Linked DNA regions of Homo sapiens: regions 2 and 3 are each linked to region 1. Evidence: promoter capture Hi-C in 16 types of primary human blood cells and fetal thymus (Javierre and others, 2016). All regions are on one chromosome and are shown on one strand. The core of a region is centred on a gene start or on the middle of the fragment in contact, and the rest is flanking DNA. Distances in the headings are between cores, read along the strand shown. Region 1 holds the start of CDKN2AIPNL (CDKN2A interacting protein N-terminal like). Region 2 overlaps SAR1B (secretion associated Ras related GTPase 1B). Region 3 has its middle 41 kb from the start of SAR1B.

What was found. Contacts are between HindIII fragments. The CHiCAGO score rates a contact against its expected background, and 5 or more counts as called.
Region 2: a contact is called between a fragment that was not itself captured here and the fragment with the promoter of CDKN2AIPNL in region 1, in 1 of 17 cell types (M1 macrophages). The highest score is 5.5, in M1 macrophages.
Region 3: a contact is called between a fragment that was not itself captured here and the fragment with the promoter of CDKN2AIPNL in region 1, in 3 of 17 cell types (endothelial precursors, activated CD4 T cells and naive B cells). The highest score is 6.8, in endothelial precursors.

What each region holds. Positions count from the first base shown.
Region 1 is chr5:134,410,283-134,413,742 of GRCh38, forward strand. It overlaps CDKN2AIPNL (CDKN2A interacting protein N-terminal like), which reads right to left and starts at 1,599. Exons shown (of 3, transcript NM_080656.3): 1 at 1,334-1,599. The coding sequence starts at 1,572. RefSeq lists enhancers at 991-1,729, 1,253-1,742, 1,730-2,467. The HindIII fragment of the contact is 16,822 bases long and covers 916-3,460 here.
Region 2 is chr5:134,607,568-134,611,027 of GRCh38, forward strand. SAR1B (secretion associated Ras related GTPase 1B) reads right to left here. Exons shown (of 7, transcript NM_016103.4): 5 at 2,004-2,107; 6 at 805-936. Among named protein-coding and RNA genes, the nearest start is that of SAR1B, 24 kb to the right of the region's middle. The HindIII fragment of the contact is 2,044 bases long and covers 556-2,599 here.
Region 3 is chr5:134,590,224-134,593,683 of GRCh38, forward strand. No RefSeq gene overlaps it. Among named protein-coding and RNA genes, the nearest start is that of SAR1B, 41 kb to the right of the region's middle. RefSeq lists enhancers at 1,316-1,375, 2,196-2,789. The HindIII fragment of the contact is 1,068 bases long and covers 1,174-2,241 here.

The DNA.
Region 1 (3,460 bases), core at 349-2,848:
GTGCCACCACGCCTGGCTAATTTTTTATTTTTAGTAGAGACAGGGTTTCACCATGTTGGCCAGGCTGGTCTCCAACTCCTGACCTCAAGTGATCCTCCTCCCAAAGTGCTAGGATTACTGGCGTGAGACACCGTGCCTGGCCCTGTGAACACTTCTTGCTTGTAGATACAGAAGTGGACTTCAGAAATACCAGTACAGCAGATGTTTCAAGATTTAGAAGAACAGAGGCACTGTACATCCAGCAACAGATATTCTCAGATACAGGATGAGGACCAAAATATTTTTATTTTTTAAATACATGGAATGTTAGTCTAACAAAAACATTATTTATTTCCCCAATTCTCTGACATTTGCCTAACCATGGAAAACCAGGATTTCCCAGGAGCACCTAGAAGGCAGGGAAAAGGGACGGGTGCCTCTGGCATTGCTTCCCTACGTACTGTTCTAATAAACCCCAATATGTGAAGCAAAACCAAGTGGCTTAGGCCTGCAGGGGCCAAATGACCAGAGTCAGGCAGCCATAATAGGTATAGAAACCAAGATCAAACCAAGTCACCCTATTTTCCTAACACAATTTCAGGAAAATCGAAGCTCTCTAATAGGGAGTCTCAAGATTTGCCACCTTCCTCATGGAGGGGTGAAAGGAATGCCTTATCAGGCACTTCAAAAGCGGGCCTTTGTCCTTTTGGTGCTGCAGCCAGGATGAAGTGGGCTTTGAGACCTTCACAAAAAGGCATCGGCCATTTTCATAAGAGGGAAAGCAGAGAGGTGAAGCTGGTTCCTACTTAGGACCCCGTGGGCTGTGGAGTGAGGAGAAAAAGCCATAGGATACAGATTACATCCTCTCATTAGTGATTAAAATCCATCAATCCTGCCAGAAGCTGCATGGCCCCAGGTATATCACTTCTCTCCCTAAGCTTTTTCATCTGTAAAATGGGGATCTCCGTTTCTCTCTCTGCACGTTTGCCATGTAGGTGACAGGGGCTAACGGACTTCGAATGCATACTGCAAAGGTGATGGTTTGAGCTAATAATAATAGTAATACAAATAACAATAGCAACCTTTGAACCCGCCATGTATTTAGCTCTTCACCCTTTAATTATTACAGCCATCATAACCACCCTTTTACCAGAAGAGAAAACTGAGGCTCAAAGATAAGGATCTTTCCAAGGGGCCTCCAGGGTGGGAATCAGTCTTCGGGCCGACCAATGCGGATGGAGGTTGGGCCCGGGTTCAGTCTGGGGCAGAGGTTCGGGTCAGGGGTGAGCCCTGGGAGAGGCCTTGAGGGTCGGAAGATAGGGGACAGGATCAGCCGGCCGGCAGGGGTCCGCACCTGCAGCCTAGGAAGAGATGGTTGGCCCAGACCATGGAGAGGGAGAGCAGCTGGTCCAGGCGGCCACTGCCGTCGGGCGGGTCGCGGTAGTCGGGCAGGTGGCGCAGGATGAATTCCATGCGGGCCTTCCATTGCTTCTCGCTCTCTGAGTAGGAGCGGAACTGCTCCGCGAAGTCGGCCGCCTGCCGCACCCCCGAAACCAGCTCCTCCACTGCGGCAGCCGCCTCGCCACCGACCATGGTGCCCGCCGCAGCCGAGGACCGGATAGCCCGCCGCCTTCCCGACGCGCACTGCGCCACCGCCTGCCGGCCAGAGGGGCCCCATCAGCGCACGACTGCTCCAGAAGACCAACCTGGAGCGCCCTCGCCCGGAGCGGCGGCCTGCGGGGGCACAGAGCGGCTCCTGGCTCCTCAGACCGCCGCAGCCCGTGGCTCCTGCCCTGGGTCTACCCAGGGCTACAAGGGTCTTTTGCGGTCGACCCTGCGGGGAACCGGTGGGAAAACTGAGGTCCCTAAACACAGATTCGGAGCGCCCTCTTCCAGTTGGCAGCTGGATGCCAGCCAGAGCTATGCTGTGCCCTTGCCCTGAGAGTTTCCCGGGCACCGCCTCATCCTGAGCGACATCAGGGGGCCCGGGTCACGGTCGACTTCCAGGGGTCTCCACAGCCACGAAGGTTGGGGCCCGCCTTCCTGGAGCGAGTAATCCATCCATCCCGTGAATACTTGCCAGGCACATTGCTAGGTGCTGGAGAGGCAATGAGAGCACATTCGGAGCCCTGCTCGCCTGAACTTTACCATGGAGTGGAGGAGTGGACATTAGTGACATAATTGCTCAAGTAAATGGAGAATTTCAGCGTTGACAAGTATTAGTAAAGAGAAGTTCAGCGTGCTACAACCATGAATAAGCAAGGGACCCAATCTAGTCTTGGGGTCAGGGAAGTGATCCTGGAGAAGTGAAGAATGAGCAGTTTTCTGAGTAAAGGGGAGTCGGTCAAAGCAAGAGAGAGCATGGCCTGGTAAGAGAATTGCAAGATAGGGGGTAGGAGGGGTTGGGGGGCGGGGCAGGGCAGGTAGAGAATGGAGAAGATGAAGTTGCAGAGGTCAGCAAGGCCAGTAGGCCAGGCAGGGATCCTGGCTAGATCCCAAGAATGGGGAGCCGCTGAAGGATTTTAACCAGAACAGTGACACCTGTGTTTACAAAAGATGCTGGAAGGAGCCAGAAACAATGTGTCCAGAGGAAATGAGCAAGTTTGGACTTGGTTTTAAATAGAGACAGGGTTTCGCCATGTTGCCCAGGCTGGTCTCGAACTCCTGAGCTCAAGTGATCCGTCTCCCTCAGCCTCCCAAAATGCTGGGATTACAGGTATGAGCCATCGTAACTGGCTGGACCTGAAAGTTTTTATTTAGCTGGCATGACTCTGCTGTCTGTTCGAGTCTCAGGTAGCAGACACACTGAGAGAAAAAAGAGCTTCCTTTTAAGTGGTGAATTTTCCATCCCTGGAAGCATTCAACTACAGTAACTGGGTGTTGGGGCTCAGAAACCAACACCCCAAAATGTATTTTGACATGCTGAACTGATGAAGAAGCCTCAAGGTCTCTGTGACCTCCGCCACCAACACACACTCCTGTCTGTCAATTCTTTGTTCCTCCCAAAGCACAAGATGAAGTTGTTCCCTTATCTGCCTAAATTTAGTCCAGAACGCCAAAGGAAACAATTATCTCTGGTTCCCTCCCTGAGTTTTCATTAAGTGAATTTGTTTTGCAGGAGGAAAGACTGAAGTATGGTCAACACACTAGGACAGACTTTTGTCACAAACCCTTGTCTCCTCTGCAGGCCCAACAGACTTTGTCCCAGGCCATTGCATGTTCTTCAAGCCCATTGAATTACCCTAAAAATCATTTACTACCCATCTAAAATATTCACACTCTGGATGATGGGGTAATCACTCTGTGATTAACTATGCACATTAATAAACTTGTATGTCTTTTCTCTTTTTTTTTTTTTTTTGAGAGCAAATTTCACTCTTTTTGCCCAGGCTGGAGTGCAATGGTGTGATCTCTGCTCACCGCAACTTCTGCCTCCCAGGTTCAAGTGATTCTCCTGCCTCAGCCTCCTGAGTAGCTGGGA
Region 2 (3,460 bases), core at 328-2,827, 200 kb after region 1:
TTCGAGACCAGACTGACCAACATGGAGAAACCCCGTCTCTACCAAAAATACAAAATTAGCTGGGCGTGCTGGCACACGCCTGTAATCCCAGCTACCAGGGAGGCTGAGGCAGGAGAATCGCTTGAACCTGGGAGGCAGAGGTTGCAATGAGCCGAGATTGCACCATTGTACTCCAGCCTGGGCAACAAGAGCAAAACTCCATCTCAAAAAAAAAAAAAAAGAGCCTCCTGCTATATGCTGCAGTATTTCTCCACCCTGAAATAGTATATGTAAACTAAAAAAATTTTGTAAATCTCTGGGGTTCTTCCACTGTTTATCTGGATTTTTTCAATGCTGATGTTTCCCCCAAAATAAATCCTAGGAAAAGTGAATACCAAAACAATCCGTCTTAAAGCTTATTATAAAGTATATGTTCAGAAAACCGTAAAATATTCCAAGTTTATGTCTTATTTATCTCTGGTAAACTCAGGGCCTAAACACACTACTGGTATACTTAAACACTCAAATATATCGTTTGGTGGCTAATTCTGAAAATGTATGATAAATAACTTTGAAAGCTTTAATTTAGTTTCCTATAAGCACAAGCCTTAGGCATAACTCATCCTTGACATTTTTGTTGTCACCAAGAAAATGTTTCATTCCATGGTAGAAAGAAATGAGGACATTAAAAAGACCCACAGGTATAAATGACAGTTTTCTTTAAGAAAATGATAATGGGCTTGTATAGTTGGACAATAGTAATTTAAGAAGACATTTGTACTGTAGAATTAAACACACCCATCATAATTTTTTTTTTTTTTTTACCTTTCCTGTTGTCTGACCATATAAACCAAACATCTCTCGCAACCTCTCTTCACTGATGGCTTCAGGTCTGTCGATCTTATTCCCAAGAATCAGTATAGGCACATTAGCAATGGTTTCATCTGTCATTAGTGACTGAAAAAAACAAAACAATACAAAACAAGAGTTGATATGAAACCATCCAAAGAGCTTATTTTGATATGATAAAACAATAAAGGACTCATTTTCTACCATATCATGTCATACCAACGTTCTTTGTCAAACTTTCCCCACATTTTAAAGTGACCTCAATGAAACCATAAGCTAAATTCTTCTGTCTTCCTAAGGCTCTTCCTGTAAATGTTTACTCTGCTCATCCTTTAAAGGAGTGACATAGAACGTATAGAGCCAGCACCTTAGAAGTGAACAGATGTGGTTTCACTTCTGGCTCTACTGCTTTTGAGATGTGACTTTGGGCAAGTTAGCCTGACTGAAGCTCTAGAGAGAATTAGGAACAGTAGCATCCACCCTATGAAATTGAGAATTAAATCAAGTAATACGCACAGTCTCTGGAACAAAGTAGGAACTCAGGCATTCTCTGTCCTTGTTTTGTAACCATAGAACCTACCTGGACTTTTCCACACGTACAAGTATTTGTTTGCCTGCTCTGGGCAGAGCCATGGTATGATCAACCTTCAATCAAATCATGGACCTGCTTACTCTGTGGCCCCAGATCTGGTGCTGACCTTGCCTGCTGCTGTTGGGCCCCTTTACAAAATATCTGACCTGGGATACTGGAGGGGAGGTAGCTACATATGCCTCTGCTCACTCCTGGGAGTAGTGTCAAAGATGGCATGTCCTATCATTTCCAGGCTGTGGCTTAAGATATAGCATCTTAGCATGACCAGGGACTCAAGATCAACCCACTCCAGGAATATAACAGACATGAAATATACTAAAAGGGTACATTCTGTACAGGGTGAGCTTCTTAAGTCTTCATAAAAGATGTCTGTGTTAGTACTTCCTCAATAGCTACAATTACTCAGTTACTCCCTCTGCATTCTAAGTAATCACTACTTAAAGCAATCACTGAGCTCAACAAATTGCCAAGAGTTTCATCAGAGACTGCAGAAAAGCTGCACTCTGATACCTGTATCTCTGACCTACTTCTGCAGGCTTACCAGAGTGATTTGACTATATTTAGTTTCAGTTATTTAACTTACATCAAGTTCTTCTTTTGACTCTAACAGCCTTTCGTGGTCTGCACAATCCACCAGAAATACAATGCCATTGATAGCAGGAAGGTAGTTTTTCCACACTCTTCGAGCTAACAAAAACAATCAGGGGTTAGAGTTTACTTGTTGGTCAAACCCAGCAGATGGTTTAAGCAAAGAGTCCAACCAGATATCAAGTGCGGTAATCCCTTAGCTGCTGGTACTTCACAATATATTCAAGTTAATCTTTTACCCAGTGGTGCCAAATTCTTCTGAGAATAACTAAGAGGGAATTTCAGGCTTTCCTTGACTGTGGGCAAGTCAAATACTTTAGTCTCTTCCAATTATCATATGTAAGGAGTAGAATATTTAAAATAAAAATAAAAATAAAAAAAAATACACGTTAAGTTCATTGGAGGACTGCTACTAGATCTAAAATATAAGCAGTAAAAAAACTACATATATGTGATTATATATACATAAAATGTGTGTATTTATATTACATATATATGCAGTGTTCATTTTTTGACATTTCTAGTTATCAGATTTTTTTTGCCAGTGATAAATTTGGAATGAGTGACAGAAGGAAATTAATATCAGGTACAAGCTTGTTAAAATAATAAGGCCGGGTGTGGTGGCTCACACTTGTAATCCCAGCACTTTGGAAGGCCAAGGCAGGTGGATTGCTTGAGCTCAGGAGTTCAAGACCAGCCTGGACAACATAGTGAAACCTCATCTCTACAAAAAAACACAAAAAATTAGCCAAGCCGGACACAGTGGCTCATGCCTGTAATCCCAGCACTTTGGGAGGCTGAGGCAGGTGGATCACCTGAGGTCAGGAGTTGGAGACCAACCTGGCCAACATAGTGAAACCCTGTGTCTCTACTAAAAATACAAAAATTAGCCAGGCTTGGAGAATCACCTGAACCCGGGAGGTGGAGGTGGCAGTGAGCCGAGATCATGCCACTGCACTCCAGCCTGGGTGACAGAGAGAGACTCCGTCTCAAAAAAAAAAAAAAAAAAAAAAAAAAATTAGAAAGTGTGGTGGTGTGTGCCTGCCCAGCTACTTGGGAGGCTGAGGTGGGAGGATGGAGCCCAGGAGGCAGAGGCTGCAGTAAGCCAAGATCATGCCACTGCACTCCAGCCTGGGAGACAGAACCAGACTCTGTTTCAAAAAAAATAATTAAAAAAAAACCAAAACAAAATTGTTTTACTCAGAAAAGAAGCTCAAATGTTAATAATTAACTGAAGTCTATGAAATCATAAGAGTAATTTTTTCCATAACATAACTTTCTTCACTGACTTGAGTTTTATGACATACCTTTTTTTTTTTTTTTTAAAGAGACAGGGTCTTGCTCTGTCATCCAGGCTAGTTCACTGCAACCTCAGACTCTTGAGCTCAAGTCATAGTCCCATCTCAGCCTCCTGAGTAGGTAGGACTATCAGTGTCTATCACTATGCCCCAT
Region 3 (3,460 bases), core at 458-2,957, 180 kb after region 1:
TCAAACTCAAAGCTCTTTTGAAATTATAATCACCTCCCTTCCCTAAAAGGCTTTTTGCACACTGCTCTAGGAAATTACGGCTGACCCAGGAGCGAGAAGTCTTCTCTCTGCCACTGACTTGATGGACCCAGCTACTTGGGAGATACTTCTGCATCTGTACAATGGGAGAAGAGGTTGGGGGATATCTGTGACCTCTGAAGTCCATCTCCTGTGGGGAGGGGCTGTGGTCAGAGGGCAAGGGAAAGCTTTCCAGTGTTACCGGATGGAAGGTCTTGACTGTGAGTTGTCCAGGTTCTTACGCACTGAACGAAGAATTGAACAAAACACACAAAGAAACAAAAGAACAAAGCAACGAAAGAAGCAATGAAGGTGATTTACTGAAGTGGAAGTACACTCCACAGAGTGGGAGCAGGCTCGAGCAAGCAGCTCCAGAGCCCCATTGCAATGTTCTTTAGGGTTCTTATTAAACTAAAAGAATTTGGTGGCTGGTGGATTAGAGCTCACGCCTGTAATCCCAGCACTTTGGGAGACCCAGGCGGGTGGATCACTTGAGGCCAGGAGTTCGAGACCAGCCTGGCCAACATGGTAAAACCCAGTCTCTACTAAAAAAAAAAAAAAGAGAGAGAGAAAGAAAGAAAGAAAAAATTAGTTGAGCATGGTGGTGTGCCTGTGGTCCCAGTTACTCTGGAGGCTGAGATGGGAGGATTGCTTGAACCCAGGAGGCAGAGTTTGCAGTGAGTGGAGATCAAGCCACTGCAATCCAGCCTGGGTGATAGGACAAGATTCTGTCTCAAAAACAAAAAAAGAATTTGGTAACACTCCTAGGTACCCTTTAAAGGCCTCCAGTTGGTTATACCCTATGACAGATTGGCCAGCAACTAATCAGAGGCTGAAGTGGATACTTGGCCCGTGGTCAATCAGAGGCTGAAGTGGAAATTTCTGTCTTGTTATCACAGGAGTGAGGATGTGGCCTGTATGCTGCCTAATCTTGCCTAGAAGTGGCTGCACCTGCTGTTCTTTTGCTTATGCCTTGATCCTTGGTGACCCTAATTCCCTATTCTCCTATCTCACCAGGGCCCTTTAACTTGAGGCCAGCTGGGTGAGGTGGGGCTAGCTGGCAGATGGGGCTGGGTGAGCCTCCATACACAACTTGGGCAGAGGAGAGAAGGAAGAAGCTTTATCCACTCAGCTTGTCACCTTTGCACCATCAGAACACCATTGTGGCGGCTGACTCATCTGTCACCAGGTGAGTGTGCCATTAGGAGCACAGGATTAGTCATGGGCGTGGTCATGGGGTGAGATGCCAGGTCGGGCTGGGATAGTGACACGGTGAAGCATGGAGCAGGGCCTAGAGGCACTGGAAGAGAAGAGGAGGCATCCCTCCTCAGGCTTGGAAGGGGGCCTAGGCCTCCCTGATAGGGATGGAGGCCTCTGTCTTTGGGATAATGCTCAAGTGGGTTGCCTCGGGTCTAGAGGTTTGTATTTAGTGGGTGGTCCCCCTTATTCTTCCCTCCATTCTCAAACTCCTGACTTTAGGTGATCCGCCCACCTCAGCCTCCCAAAGTGCTGGGATTACAGGCATGAGCCACTGCTCCCGGCCACTTCCCTCCATTCTCAATGAACATTAAGCAACATGTGGCCATTCAAGTCTAGAGAATTTATCCATGAATCCACCACGAAAGAGGAAGCTGCTAGAAATGGAATTTTGTTGTCCTTGGGGTAATGGAAAATTATTGACCTGCATTCTGGCCCTTAGTTTCCTCATTTGTTAATAAGGATGAGAGCTCCTGCTGGGCCCACCATGCAGGGTGGCTGAGAGGCTCAAAGAGGACATGGGTATGAAGTGGACAAAATGAGGAGCCACAAAAGGTGTTAGAGGAGGGCAGGACACAGTGGTACAGGAGAGCACTCACAGACTTGCTGACTGACCAGAGGCAAGGAGGCCAGAGGGATTTGTTTACCAACTCTCACTTCCCGGATTCTGAGCCGGTAAACCCTGTTTGTTTACAAGTTTTCACGGGCCTCCCTAAGCCCAACGGTGGTCTGGGGTCAGTTCCACTCTAGGGACTGGCCCGGTGCAGCCCCTAGATGGGGGCTGGTTGCAAACAGCTGATGGTCAGAGAAGCCGCTTCAGTCACATATCTGACAGTCAGCTGCCTGGGCCAAAAAACCACACAGCTCCCCAGCCTTGTGGGTTACTCAGGCCCCTTGTCAGCTCTGTGATCATCCTTCACACCTGAAAGCTTGTAACCCGAGAGGCTAGAGGTAGTTGAATAGGACATCCCTCCTGTGCCCTCACCTCACCCCTTTTGCAAAAAAGGAACATTCCATTGCTAGGGATTGAATGTTGTGATTAACATGAAACTCAGAAGAACAGCCAAGGGTTTGTAGAAGCCAAGGAGGAAAAGTGACTCAGCAAAATAAACTTTCACCTGTGGGTACTCTGAACTGCTATTTTGGGACTCTGGGAGCCTGCCTGGTTCTAGTGCCTGTTGCTTGGTATCAAAGCATTGCTCCCTAAATGCCAGCTGGAATATTCATGCCCATTCCTTACTGAAGTAGCATCCTAGGAGGCTTGGGAGGGAGGTCTGATGGATGGGCCTTATCTCTGCCACATCCAGGTAAGAGTCACAAGTGAAGCCTGGGCAACCTGGCAAAACCCCATCTCCACAAAAAGATACAAAATTAGCTGGGTGTGGTGGTGGGCATCTGTAGTCCCAGCTACTCAGGAAGCTGAGGTGGGAGGATAGTCTGAGTCCAGGAGGCTGCAGTGAGCTGTGATCATACCACTGTACCCCAGCCTGGGTGGCAGAGTGAGACCCTGTCCCAAAAAAAAAGAGTCTCAAGTGAGCCAATGTCACAGGAGAAGTAGACATGCCCCCGTAGAGGCATCGGGGATCAGAGGGGACTCTCAAGAAGAGAGTAAATCTTAGGGATTCCTCTCCCCTCCAGGAATACTTCCATCCAGTCAAGAAAGGGCATGGGATTGGCACTAACTTGCCCCGTCAATTTTAACTCCTTCATGGCCCTCATCTGAAAAGCCTCATGTGGTTTGTAGGACCTCTGAGTTTGGGGAGAGTGTGAGAGCTCATTTCATCCAATCACTATCCCATGGAGTTCCCCTCTCTAGGAGAGACTGTTTGAATTCCAACAACAGCCCATCATTTGAAAGGCAACCCACAGCTGTGTTAAAAAGGTCTCTCTTAAATTCAATTGTAATGTCTCTTTGACACCTGACATTTCTATTCACAGGTCCTCTTGAGTCCTGGAGTCATAGATGAAGTCCAATTCACTTTCACTGGGCAGTCTTTGGACTATTTCATGACAGTTAAGCTACTCTGCCCACTTGATTTTTCAAGTTCAGTACTTTCCTAGGGGATTAAAACACAGGGTATTCTCCCTTCTTCATCCATTACACTTCTGCTTAATGGATGAAACCACCATACTGCTCCACTGTTCA